Linked DNA regions of Homo sapiens: region 1 is linked to region 2. The links are contacts of gene promoters, found by promoter capture Hi-C in blood cells and fetal thymus (Javierre and others, 2016). All regions are on one chromosome and are shown on one strand. The core of a region is centred on a gene start or on the middle of the fragment in contact, and the rest is flanking DNA. Distances in the headings are between cores, read along the strand shown.

Region 1 (6,846 bases), core at 202-2,701, 3.3 Mb after region 2:
CATTATATACTAATTATTGTATAACTAACCTCTACTTGTTTTTAACCAGTTATTTTAGAAAGCGGCAGATTTCCTTAGTAATTAATTGAATAATTTTTGATTGATAACAATATTTTGATGTCAGATGGAATGCAACAATTTAGACCAGAGTAGGTTAGCATACTAAGTCACCAAGTCTATACATATATATAAATCATATTTTATCATTTGCTCATTTATGTTCCTACTCCAAGCCATTTGTTATTATTTGCATATGTAGACCAAAGAAAACAGTATGTGTGCTTAAATACACATATATAAACTCCGAACAATTATATATAAAGTGCTTAGATTTCTGGCCTATAGTAAACCCTCAACAAATGTTGGCTGTAGTTTTTTGTAATTTTCATTAATTATTCTCTTTACAGTGCTTTGTCTCACAAGTACTTGGATCTCATCCTCGCTCGCACACATTTCCCTGTTTTGTTTGTTTTTGGTTTATTTTTTGAGACAGGGTCTGCTTCTGTTGCCCAGGCTGGAGTGCAGTGGTGGGATCACAACTCATTGCAGCATACAACTCCTGGGCTCAAGCGATCCAATCTCCCATCTCAGCCCTCCCAGTAGCTTGGACTATAGGCATGCACCACCACGCCCGGCTAATTAAAAAAAAAAATTTAGTAGAGACAAGGCCTCCCTATGTTGCCCAGGCTGGTTTCAAACTGCTGGACTCAAGTGATCCTCCGCCTCGGCCTCCCACAGTGCTGGGAGTACAGGCCTGAGCATACATTTCGCCAAATCTTATTCCTACTCAACTGGCCACAGATAGTTGCTGGACACACATGACTTTCCTACACTGTTTAGTTTTTGAAAACCTCCAAATAGCAAAACACCAAGTAAAGCGTACTGCCTCGCCCCGTTTTTTTCCTGTCCTAGATCATGTACCCTGTTCCCAAACAGAGATGAATTAGCTTCATATCTAACCACAAATTCTCCATGAGCACAGAGATCTTCGTATATCTATAATAATTGTACTCAGGAAACTCAAGGTATGAGGAGAGAGATTCCCTTCCTTCGGGGCTTGTAGGAGACTTCCCACGGAATCTTCTTTGGGAATGTCTCCCTTTTAAGCCCTGAAAGACCAGATAAATCTCAGGTGAACCTAGAGAAACAGGGAGCTTCGTATACTCAAAAGTCTATACATTACGTATTATTGAACGGCGACCTGCGGCCGCCCCTGCTGCTGCGCATGCTCCATAACTGCCGCTTGCTATAGCTGGGAGTACTGTATTATCTCTTTGCTCTTCGCCGGCTCTTCCCCAGACTTCTGTTCGAACTTCCCGGCCGCGGCAGAACCCACCAATCACAAACGCCCTTCCTCAAGCCACGCCCACCGTCTTCTCCGGGATCCCAAGACCGATTTCGCCCACACCCCTCCCTTCCTTTCCTTACGCACGCTGCGCGCGGACGTCGGCCTCTGACGTCGTCGCCTCAGCGCCGGCTCCCGGCCGGGCCGCGGCCGCCGACCGTTGAGCCGCCGGCTGAGCCGCCTGCTGAAGTCCCTCCCTCAGGAACCCCTCCGCCACCCTCCACCTCCGAACCGCTCTCGCGGCGGCGACCCATGTGGGGGTTCAGGCTCCTGCGGTCGCCGCCGTTGCTGCTCCTGCTGCCGCAGCTCGGAATCGGAAACGCCTCGTCCTGCTCTCAGGCCAGAACCATGAACCCGGGCGGCAGCGGCGGCGCGCGATGCTCCCTCTCGGCCGAGGTGCGCCGCCGTCAGTGCCTGCAGCTTTCCACCGTGCCTGGAGCCGATCCGCAGCGCAGCAACGAATTGCTCCTGTTGGCGGCGGCCGGGGAGGGACTGGAGCGGCAGGACCTCCCCGGGGACCCAGCGAAGGAGGAGCCGCAGCCGCCGCCCCAGCATCACGTCCTCTATTTCCCTGGGGATGTGCAGGTAACTCGGGGCCTGCCTGGGTATCTGTTCCTTCCTCTCGTGTATACGTACGCGGTCACTGATTCTTCCCTCGTGGCTGCTGCCTGGTTCCTTTCCTTGCCTGAACACACCCACACATTCACTGAGGGTGGCTCTTCCTCTACTCCACGAAATCCAAAACCGTGCCTTCCACGCCCTTGGCGCCCTTTGTCCATAGAACCCCATGGGGAAGGTGTCCGACGAGGGCTACGATCTCGAAAGAGCCAGCTGTCGGTCCAGGTTTCCAAGAGGCGGAATTTGAGACAGGGAGTGACACGCATCTTGTATATTTATTCTATAATTTGGTTTCTCAGAGGACCGTGTGTGTGTGTTGGGCAGGGGACAGAGCGATGGCTTTCAAATTAAGTTAGCACGTAGTGTTTAGAAAACGGTGGCAGTAATTAAAAACCAAACAAACATTACAAAGGTATGACATCCAGTAACCCTAAAAAAGAGTGGGGATGGGTGGAAGAAAAGGGACAATAATTATTAAGCATGTCAATGTTTTGATGCTCACCTCTTTTGTACTTTTGCTTTTGCATGTTATGTTTATTATTTTATAGCTGCAGGTAAATATCCGTGGTTATGTTGCCCTGAAAACTGGGTCTTAATCTAACGTTGCATTATCTAATATGGTAGCCATTAGCCATATATGGCTATCTGAATTAATTAAAATTAAATAAAACTAAAAATCCAGTTATTCATATTAGCTGCATTTCAAGTGCTCAGTAGCTACAGATGGCTTGCGTGTGCTGTATTGGACAGCACAGATATATAGCATTATCATAGAAAATAATCCATCATCATAGAAAGTTCTAGACAGGTAAAGCTAGACTATAGCTAGGTATGTTTCTCTTTTTTGTTTTTTTGAGACGGAGTCTTGCTTAGTTGCCCAGGCTGGAGTGCAGTGGCGCAGTCTCGACTCACTGCAACCTCCGCCTCCCGGGCTCAAGTGATTCTCGTGCCTCAGCCTCCCGAGTAGCTGGGATTACAGGCATGCGCTACCACACTGAGCTAATTTTTGTATTTTTAGTAGAGATGGGGTTCCACCATGTTGGACAGGCTGGTCTCGAACTTCTGACTTCAAGTGATCTGCCCACCTTGGCCTCTGAAAGTGCTGGGATTATAGGTGTGAGCCACCGCGCCCGGCCTACATGTGTTTCTTATACTATGAAACTACATTAGTTTATTTTCAAAATTGGTGCCTTAAAATGACATACTTAGAAACTGTGCTCTGAGTCAGATAATGATTAAGATATAGATATAGATATATAGATATAGATATAGATATTCTCTTTTTTTTTCCAGTTTTTATTAGCAGTCAACTAAACCAGTTATTTTGAGGGCAAAAGAAAATAATATATATTATTTTATATATATATTATATATAAAATTATATATATTATATATAATATATAATATATTATATATAATATATATTATAATATATATAATATATATTATATAAAATATATTCTATAGAATATATATTCTATTATATAATATATATTCTATTATAATATATATTATATATAATATATATTCTATTATAATATATATTATATATAATATATTCTATTATGATATATATTATATATAATAACATATATTATATATAATATATATTCTATTATATAAAATATATATTATATAAAATATATATTCTATTATATAAAATATATATTATATAAAATATATATTATATTATATAAAATATATATTATACTATATATAAAATATACTATATAATATATATAAAATATATATATATTTTTATAATATGTATTATTTTCTTTTGCCCTCAAAATAATTGACTGGTTTAGTTGACTGCTAATAAAAACTGGAGAAAAAAAAAGAGAATAAAGAAAAAAACAACTACTACTTAGATTTAAGAGAAAAAAAAGCCACTTACTTACTTGGTGCCCTTGTGGCTCAGATTGGGAAAATAACATGTGACATTTCCGACTATGACTGCCAGAATAATTTTGTGGAACAATTACTGCATGCATTCCTAAAATAATGATGATGATAATGATTACATTTATTGAGCACCTCCTAAGTGTTTTTAAAGTGTGCCAGCCAGGATATATAGTACAAGTCTTCAGAGGAAGTCTAAAAAGTCTTACATACAGTTTGAGGCCAGATTGCCTGGGTTTGAACCCTGATTTAGAACTTTTTAGGTATAAAGTCCCTGGACAATTGTTACATCTCTCTGTGTTTCAGCTACTTCAACTACAAAATAAGAATAATAGTTTATAAGGTGTCAATGGAGATTAAATGTGTGGATACTAAATGAGTTCTGGTCCCTTCTTATCTCTCTGGTGACTTTAAAAATTATTGGAGTATCCTAGTCGTCTGTTCTTCCATGTTTCCTCTGTCTGTGTTCACTCCCTTCAGTCTCATGGCTTTACTCACTACCTGTACACTGACACCCCTCAACATTTATGTATCTAGCCTACACATATTCCCCAAACTTTAGGCCAACCAATTATATGCACGATTATTTCCTTTTGGATATTTAATAGATATCCTAAACCTAAAATCTCTGGATCTTTACCCCTATGCAGTCTTCCTCATGTCATTAATGGAAACTTTACCTTCTTAGTTGCTCAAGATAGAAATCTTGAAGTCATCCATTAGAACTGTCTTTCATACCTCATTTCATCAAATCTAGTGGTTTTACCTTTTCAGTGTATCTAAAGTAATCAGAATAACCATTGAAAAATGTAAGTCAAATCATTCCACGTCTGCTCAAAACTGTGCAGTCACTTCCCATGTCACTCAGAGTAAGAGCCAGAGTCCTTCCTGTTAATATCCTGTCCTGCAAGGCTTTTCATTATTTCTATCTTTTCCCACCCTGTTACCTATCTGACTTGGTCTCCTTTTTCTGTTTACTCTTCTCCAGCCTCTCTGGCTTTCTTGGTGTTGCTCAAACATGTCAGGCACACTATACCTAAAAAGCTTTCTGTATACTGCCTGGAACAGCCTTCCAAGTAGATGACTTGTAGGTTTATTACCTCACCTCTTCCAGGTCTGCTCAAGACTCTGCCTCTCTGAGGCCTTTTCTGACCATCCTGTTTAATAATCATAGTATATATAGGCTTCCTATCAACTTTTCTTCTTTATTATTACCCATTGCATTTACTATACTAGTTTTCGTTTTGAGTTTTGTTTGCCTTCTGCCACTAAAATATAAGCTTACGTTTGTTCACCGATATAATCTGCGATGCTTGAGAGTTGCATGTTTTAGGTGTGCAGTAGATGACTTGTATAAATGAGTATTTTTTAATTGCTTTGAACAATGCATGAAATACTTGAAATGTGTTGGCTATTATATAAAATGCTGTTAGGCTGATTTCTTCATCTGTATTTTTGTACTTGATTCTTTTGAGCCTAATATCTATCCTTATGAACTTTTCGCTGCTGAGTACAGCCCATCTTTTTATTGTGTTGATGCTTTTAGAATGCCTATAGACATTCTATTTTCTTTATTTTCTTTTATTACTATTTTTTAGAGAGACAGGGTCTCACTATGTTGCCCACTCCTGTGTTCAAGTGATCCTCCTGCCTCAGCCTTTTAAAGTGTTGGGATTACAAGCATGAGCCACCACACCTCGCTGAGCATTCTTGTTATAGCTTTATTCTTAATTTGAAGAAATATTGAACAGAATAGGGCTAAACAGAATTTTGTAAGATAGTATTAGAAGCTTTGCCTATCTTTTTTTTTTTTTCCTTGAGATGGAGTCTTGCTCTGTTGCCCAGGCTGGAGTGCAGTGGCGTGATCTTGGCTTACTGCAACCTCCACCTCCCAGGCTCAAGCGATTCTCCTGCCTCAGCCTCCTGAGTAGCTGGGACTACAGGAGCATGCCACCACGCCTGGCTAATTTTTCTTTTTTTTTGTATTTTTAGTAGAGATGGGGTTTCACCATGTTGACCAGGCTGGTCTCAAACTCCTGACCTCAGGTGATCCTCCCACCTCAGCCTCCCAAAGTGCTGGGATTATAGATGTGAGCCACCGCACCTGGCCTGAAGCTTCACCTATCTTGATACTGTTTCATTATTTGGTGTTTGTTAATTGGAACTGGTTTTTCATATGATTTTAAGTCCTCTTAATTCCTATTAACTTCTTGATGTTCCTTTTGCAGTCATGTTTTGTTGTATGTCCTTTTTAAAAATTCTGTACTTTTCCTTTATCATTTGAATTACAAGAAAGCTAAGGCCATATATATTAGTCCATTCTCACACTGCTAATAAAGACATACCCGAGGCTGGGTAATTTATAAAGGAAAGAGGTCTAATTGAATCAGTTCCACAGGGCTGGGAGGCCTCAGGAGACTTACAATCATGGCAGAAGGGGAAGCAAATGTGTCCTTCTTCACATGGCAAGAGGAGGGAGAAGAATGAGACCGAAGGTGGGGAGGCCCCTTGTAAAACCATCTCATGAGAACTCACTCAGTATTATGAGAACAGCATGAAGGTAACCTGCCCCATGATTCAGTTACCTCCCACTGGGTCCCTCTCACAACACATGGGGATTATGGGAACTACAATTCAAGATGAGATTTGGATGGGGACACAGCCAAACCATATCATTCCACCCCTAGCCCCTCCCAAATTTCATGTCCTTACATTTCAAAACATAACCATGCCCTTCCAACAGTTCCCCAAAGTCTTAACTCATTGTAGCATTAACTCAAAAGTCTAAGTCCAAGTTTCATCTGAGACAAGGCAAGTCCCTTCCACCTATGAGCCTGTAAAATCAAAAGCAAGTTAGTTACTTCCTAGATACAATGGGGATACAGGCATTGGGTAAATACAGCCATTCCAAATGGGAGAAATGGACCAAAACAAAGGGGCTACAGGCCCCATGCAGGTCCGAAATCCAATAGGACAGTCAT
Region 2 (6,633 bases), core at 814-3,313:
ATTACCAGTTTGGTCTTCATCCTGCTCAATGGAAAACTTTTCGTTCAATGGGGGAACGATTAAATGTTTTTAAGCAAAGACCTGAGATAATCAGATTTACTTTTTTAAAAGATCTGGTAGCCATATGAAGGATACTTTGGAAGGGGTAATAGGAAAACCAGTTAGGAGGTTATCGCAGTGAAACAGAATGTGGTCTTCATGGAATATCTAGGATTTCCGTGAATGAAATGATCTTGTTTGATAAATGGGGTAATGTCTGAGAACTATTTATCAACTGAAAATCAAGAGGGAAATCAGCAAGAAAATCGGTATGTTTGGCATTATTTCAATCAAAATCCTGGCAGAATTTTTGTAGGTATCAACAAGTTGATTCAAAAAATTTGGGAGAAAGGTAAAGGAACTAGAAAGTTAAAGGAACAGCCAAAACAAATTTGAAAAAGGACAAAGTTGGAGGACTATACTCCCTGATTTCAAGTTTATTGAAGACTTCAGGTCCTTTTCTCTAACTCTGTAATTGCTTAAGTTCTTATACGGTTTGCCAGACAGTGAATAAGGGAAAACAAATGAAAAACACGAATTTAATCAGTTTGGTTCCCTGACTGCTGCTTAATATGGAGATTTGAGGAGAAGGTGAAAACTCTCATTACACAAAAACACGTGGATACATGTATCACTCATCTCTTAATTCCACTGATAAACCAGAGGTCATTGCAAGATAAAACATACATAATGAAAATAATTGGCTGTTTGCACTGACGCTTTAAAATACATTTTCATTTCCTATTAAAAGCTTTATTTGGTCCCTTTCTCTGAATAATGTATGCAGTGCTCATTTCTCTTCACCGGATCGGCTCAAAGCTTGATGAATATGGCTGTGGTTTGATGGGCAGTCTCTGCATCTCACATTGAGGCTCCGCTATGAAAAGAATTAGAATAGCAAGATCAATTGTCAGGCTAAGTAAATGAGCTCTCATCTCGGATCTGATTGCTTATATGAGAGGGCTGAAGTGATTCTTGGCTGCACTCTCAGGGAGAAGAGAGAAATGCATTTTAATTGCCCTGGCAGGGATAACAGGTGTTCTGTCCAGCTACCAAAACGCAAAGCCGCGTCTTTGCACTATAGAAGGCTTTCCCTTAAGTGAGAATACATATTCTTAAAGCAAAACAACTCAGAAACGCTGGTGTGGTGATGCACGCCTGTAATCCCAGGACTTTGGGAGGCCGAGGTGGGCGGATGGCTCGAGCCCAAAGAGACCAGCCTGAGCAATATGGTGATGACCCCGCCTCCACGAAAAAATACAAAAATTAGCCAGACGTGGTGGCGCGCGCCTGTGGTCCCAGATACTGGGGAGGCTGAGATGGGAGGATCGCTTGAGCTCGGGAGGTCGAGGCTGCAGTGAGTCGAGATCGCACCACCGTAATCCACCCTTGGCGACAGAGGAAGACCCTATCTCAAAAAAGCAAACCACCAAAAAAACCAGGGACAGCTCAATGCTCTTTTCCGTTTCATAGCTACTTACACTCAGATTTACAAATACCTATTAACTTGTAGACAGGGCAAGAAATAATTTATGCTGAAGAGACGAAAGACCTGAAAACAGATTTCTGTGTTTTACTCTCCATGTGGCCATCATGGACGAGGACGAAGAGGGACTTGATTTTTCCTTTAACGAGAAGAATGTTTAAGCTCTGAATTTTTAACCAATTTTTATGCTCGTTACTCTGCTGTAGGGTATGTATTTACCAAGATTAGCAGAACACCGCGAGTTCACCAGGCGGAGACAAGTCACTGTGAAGTGGGCAGCACAGGACCCCCCGGAGGGCAGGCGCCGGAAACTACATATCCCGGCGTGCCCCGCTCGCGAGCACAGTGGAGCCTGCCGCCATTCGGTTCACGGCGCTACGCATTCCCTGAGCGCCGCCGGATGCCGGCCTGGGTCCCGCCCAGGGCTGAGGGCCCTCCTGGGCCGGGAAAACTACAGTTCCCGACATGCCCTGCCACGGGTGCGCCTGCGTACCGGAGCTACTGCGCCGGGGAGCGGGTTGGTTTAAAATGCTGTGTTAGTTCCACGGAAACCCGCTCGCCTGCTGCAGTACGGAGCCTCAGGCGGACAGATGGACTGTAAGGTGAGGCTGCCGGGCCCCGGGCTGGTGAGGGGTGGTCGGAGGCTCGCGAGGCTTCGGCTCAGATAAGGACAGTCACCACTCCCTGGCGCCCTCTCCCTGTCCTGACGGAGTCCAGTCTCACTCCCTGGACCTCAGGGCCCTGATTTAAGGCGCTTTGGCGTTGGCTGCCGGTGAAAGCCATTTAGGAGCGAAGTTTGCATTGGCCTGGCTCCAGCTGAGGGATGGGAGATAGCCACCGAAGCCTCCAGATAAGCCCAATACCACCTTTATTTATGTGTTAAGTTGGAGTTTAATAGGTTCCTGGGAAGGCTATTTCGGCGTTAATGTTTGATTTTTGCCACCAGTTAATCCTCCCTGGCTTGCTTACCAGAATATAGGTGTCAGGAATTTGCACTTGTTCTTTACGGTTTCCGCAGTACCTGGCGCTCTTGCTAGAACGGAATAGACATTCGTTAAATTCCTGTCGAAGTATTCTCCTGTTTATTTACCACCTATAATTTCCCAGGCACTGTATTAGGCTCTAAAGATAGAAAAATGTCTATTTTTAACCCCACTTTAGAGAAGTTCGTATTAGTCCGTCTTAAATGCCCCCCAACACATGCTTCTAATTTGTTAATCTTGGCGTGCTCAGGACTAGGTCCTTTAATCCTTTGTGTTCTCTGTTATCCCGCCTTATGGTTTTCTTGAGCTCTTCAGAAATTAGTCTCCAGTCCACACCTCACCCCCAAACTTCAGATCCACAAATTCAATAATGTATTTGGTATCTTTCATGTTTTAAATTTGACATTTTAAAAACTACTCTTTATCTTTTCCACAAAACGGATTCTTCCTTAATAAGTTTGCATTGTCTCAGTGATAGCACCATCCAGGCCAAAAACCCTGTAGTAATCTTGGCTTCTTCCTTTCCCTCATATCTCATATCTAATGCATCAGCAAAAGCTATCTTTCAAGTATATCTAACCACTAACCACTTCTTACAGTAGGAATACCGCTGCTGTCACCTTGGTTCTGGCCAGCAGCATCTCTACTTCTGCTTTTGTTCTTCCACCATTTGGAGTGGGAGGGAGTCAAAATGATCCAGTTAAAAGGAAAGTTGGATAGCATTCCTCAGCTATAGACCTCCAGTGACTCTGAGAATCACTGACAGCAAAAGCCAGACTTCTACAATGGCCTTCAAGGCTCTGTGTATTCTGTTTTTTGTTTTTTTGAAACGGAGTCTCGCTCTGTCGCCCAGGCTGGAGTGCAGCAGTCTCAGCTCACTGCAAGCTCCGCCTCCTGGGTTCACACCATTCTCCTGCCTCAGCCATCCGAGTAGCTGAAACTACAGGAGCACGCCACCACGCCCGGCTAATTTTTTTTTTATTTTTATTTTTGTATTTTTAGTGAGACGGGGTTTCGCCGTGTTAGCCAGGATGGTCTCGATCTCCTGACCTCTTGATCTGCCCGCCTCGGCCTTCCAAAGTGCTGGGATTACAGGCGTGAGCCACCGCGCCCAGCCGTATTCTGGTTTTATTATTACCGTCTGACCTCATCTCTCAATGTTCTCTGTGTTACTCCTTCCTCTCCAGCCAAACCCACCTCTTTATTATGTGCGGACTCATCAGACCTTCTAACTTCAGGCCTTTGCACTTGCTGTTTCCGTCTTCTGGGCCTTTCTGCCCTCTGATATCTATATAACAGGTCTTTGCTCAAATGTTATGAGGCCTTCTTTGACCACCCTGTTTAAAATGAAAATCTGCCCTGTAGCCTCCATACCATGTTCTTTCCTATTTCATTTTCCTCCTTTGCACTTATCACCAATAAACAAACTATGTATTTTACTTAGTGTCTGTCTTCTTCAGCTGGAATATAAGCTCCACGAAGGCAGGGAGTTTTGTTCGTACTGTTCTACCCAACCCCTGCCCCCCGCCTCATTGCCTATAACAGTGTGTGGCTCATGGTAAATGTTCAGGAAATATTTGTTAGATGTGTGAGTGAATGAAGACAGTGTTACCATATTATTTTCTAGTGGTTGTGATAAACAACATTGACTCCCTGGACTGTTATTTTGGAACCAACAGCATGTACTTGTATACGCTTTTGCCAGTGTACACCTATTGCCAGGTGTAGGAATGGAGCCTGTGTCCACAGAAGCATGTGTTCTCTTTTCAAAGTCATCTGGTTTTTACTAGTATATTACTTGTGACATTGGTCTTTTTCTTGCCATGCTTTCCATAAGGTTACCTGCCTAGAAGCTCTTTGGAAATATTCTCCCTAAACATCAAGACAGAATTCTGTTAGTTTGATAATAATATATGCATAGAAATTAGTTATGAATGAACTTTTTTAAAAATAAAAGTTTATATCTCAGTATTTTTATTATTGTTACTATCAAGCGTTAGGACTTAGGTTCAAGGCAGCAATCAATATTTGCTCCTTTTCAAACACAACAAAGCACAGATATGTTAAAGCTGTTGTCTCTTTGCTAGAATGTCAGCCATTAGAGGTAGATTGTTTTCATGTAAGACTGTGCTTCTTAGACTATGAGCCATAGAACTATGACTTATGAGGATCTGCCAAGTGGCCATTGGAGAGTGTGCGTGTATTTATGTATGTAGGGGTGTGGGTGGCATTTCTGCTACCACTGCTTTGGGCCTACCAGATGGGGAGGACAGGCAAGGGTATGAGCAACTGCAGTGAAAATGAGAATCTCTCTCTAACTTTAAGCCCCAACTTGGTAGATTAATTTACTGGATTGAAAGTTCTTATCTCATACTTTAACAGCCTCCCAGATACTCGGGGACTCTGCCTGGTGGCTTTAAGGCTGTCCTCTTGCTACTCAGCCATTACCGCCCCCTCCCTTGCTTCCAAGGACTCTCCTGACCTTGGCATTGTTTGGTTTTTGTTTTTGTTTTCCCATGGCGGGAAGTGGAGGTGGTGGTTGGGAGGGAAGGTTTTTAACTAACCCTGAGACTTGTTTTCATTTTTTATTTTTTTTTAGAGACAAGGTCTTGCTTTGTCACCCAGGCTGGGGTGCAGTGGCACAATCATAGCTCACTGCAGCCTCTACCTCCTGGGCTCAAGTGATCCTCCTGCGTCAGCCTCCCAAGTAGCTAGGGCTACAGGCACAGGCCACCATGCCCAGCTCATTTTTAAAAATTTTTGGAAGAGAATAGGGTCCTGCCATGTGGGCCAGGCTGGTCTGGAACTCCTGGCCTCAAGTGATCCTCCCACATAGGCCTTTCAAAAATGCTGGGACTACAGGCATGAGCCACTGTGCCTGGCCATGAGATCTGTTTTTAGTAAATCCCCAAAGGCTAGATTGGCTTATTTAATTTTTGTTTCAGCAACTTTGATGACCTGAACAGGATTCTCAGCGATTGACTAAGAGGATATTTTAAGGACAACACCATGTATTTCACTCAAAAGCTTTGTGCCCTGCCAACCATCAATCAGTGTCCGAGTCACCTCAATCTCCCCCTTCTTAGGGTGAATTTTCTATAAACCTCCTTCCCCTCAGAGGCTGGGCCAAGTTGGTTGCTCCTTTTTGAAAGTATATTTTCTCTATGGAAGCCTGAGAAGCTTCAGTGTAGAGCAGGGTCGGGTGGCACTCAGTGTGGATGCAAACCAAATTCCTACCGCGACATGTTGGACCTTCTTTTTTTTAAAACAAGTGAAGCAATTTAAATGATTTGCTGTTTTGTTTTCATGGCTGAATGTACACATGTCCTGGAGAGCCAATGTAAGCATTTAATACAGATCATAGGTTCCTTAGGGAAATATCAACAAAACTAAACATTTGAACAATTACATGAAAAAATTTTAGTTGGGAATCTGCATCCTATTCAAAATATGTGGGGGAGCTTCTCCATTTCCATTTTTTTCCAAAGACAGACTTTTGCAATATGAGTATTAGTATTATGTGCTTGGCTTCTGATATAAATGAACATAGACAAGACTCTATATTATAACCAGCTACCTGGGTCTAATAAATTGCCACAGAAATTGTTCTCCCTTCCCCTCTCCAGCACTGCTTGTCATTTTTACTTCTTCCTTCTACTTGTTTTTCCACCAGCTAATGCCTGGGCCTACTATATGTAGAAGAAAGTGACTAAAACAAACAAAAAAAAGTTTTTTATCTCACATAAGCAGAGTTTGAAGATTACTGGTTTTGCCCAAGTGTCAACATAGTCTGAGGTTCTCTGTCTTTTCCTTGTGTTTATCAGACACTGGTGATCCTTGGCTCTTCGTTTATATTTGAGAGTGAGCTGCTGCATACCTGACTGATGGAACGCTCTGGGAATTGTAAGGGGGTAGGAAAAGACAGGTGCCATCATTACTCTTTTTTTAATCTAGAAAAACAAAAGTCTGCCTAGGAGCCCTTTTGCAAACTTCTGCCCAAAGTCTCTTTGGCCAGAATATATCACATGAGTGTGCCTGCTGAGGCGAGGCTGGGGTCATGAGCTTTTCTGCTTCTTTTGGAGAGAGGACAAAGGAGCTGTGTCTGCGCACACCCTATTAGCCACC

What was found. The method cuts DNA at HindIII sites, captures the fragments that hold promoters and counts their contacts. A CHiCAGO score of 5 or more calls a contact.
Region 1: a contact is called between the fragment with the promoter of C2orf69 here and the fragment with the promoter of CCDC150 in region 2, in 1 of 17 cell types (non-activated CD4 T cells). The highest score is 6.9, in non-activated CD4 T cells.

What each region holds. Positions count from the first base shown.
Region 1 is chr2:199,909,842-199,916,687 of GRCh38, forward strand. It overlaps C2orf69 (chromosome 2 open reading frame 69), which reads left to right and starts at 1,452. Exons shown (of 2, transcript NM_153689.6): 1 at 1,452-1,930. The coding sequence starts at 1,598. LOC101927687 (a long non-coding RNA gene) reads right to left here and starts at 1,305. Exons shown (of 4, transcript XR_923766.4): 1 at 1,184-1,305. RefSeq lists an enhancer at 1,584-1,773. The HindIII fragment of the contact is 7,031 bases long and covers 1-4,907 here.
Region 2 is chr2:196,637,652-196,644,284 of GRCh38, forward strand. CCDC150 (coiled-coil domain containing 150) reads left to right here and starts at 2,064. Exons shown (of 28, transcript NM_001080539.2): 1 at 2,064-2,127. The coding sequence starts at 2,116. It overlaps LOC105373823 (a long non-coding RNA gene), which reads right to left and starts at 2,034. Exons shown (of 2, transcript XR_923747.3): 1 at 1,745-2,034; 2 at 777-916. RefSeq lists enhancers at 1,576-1,795, 1,816-1,865, 1,850-2,387, 2,388-2,925. The HindIII fragment of the contact is 4,677 bases long and covers 857-5,533 here.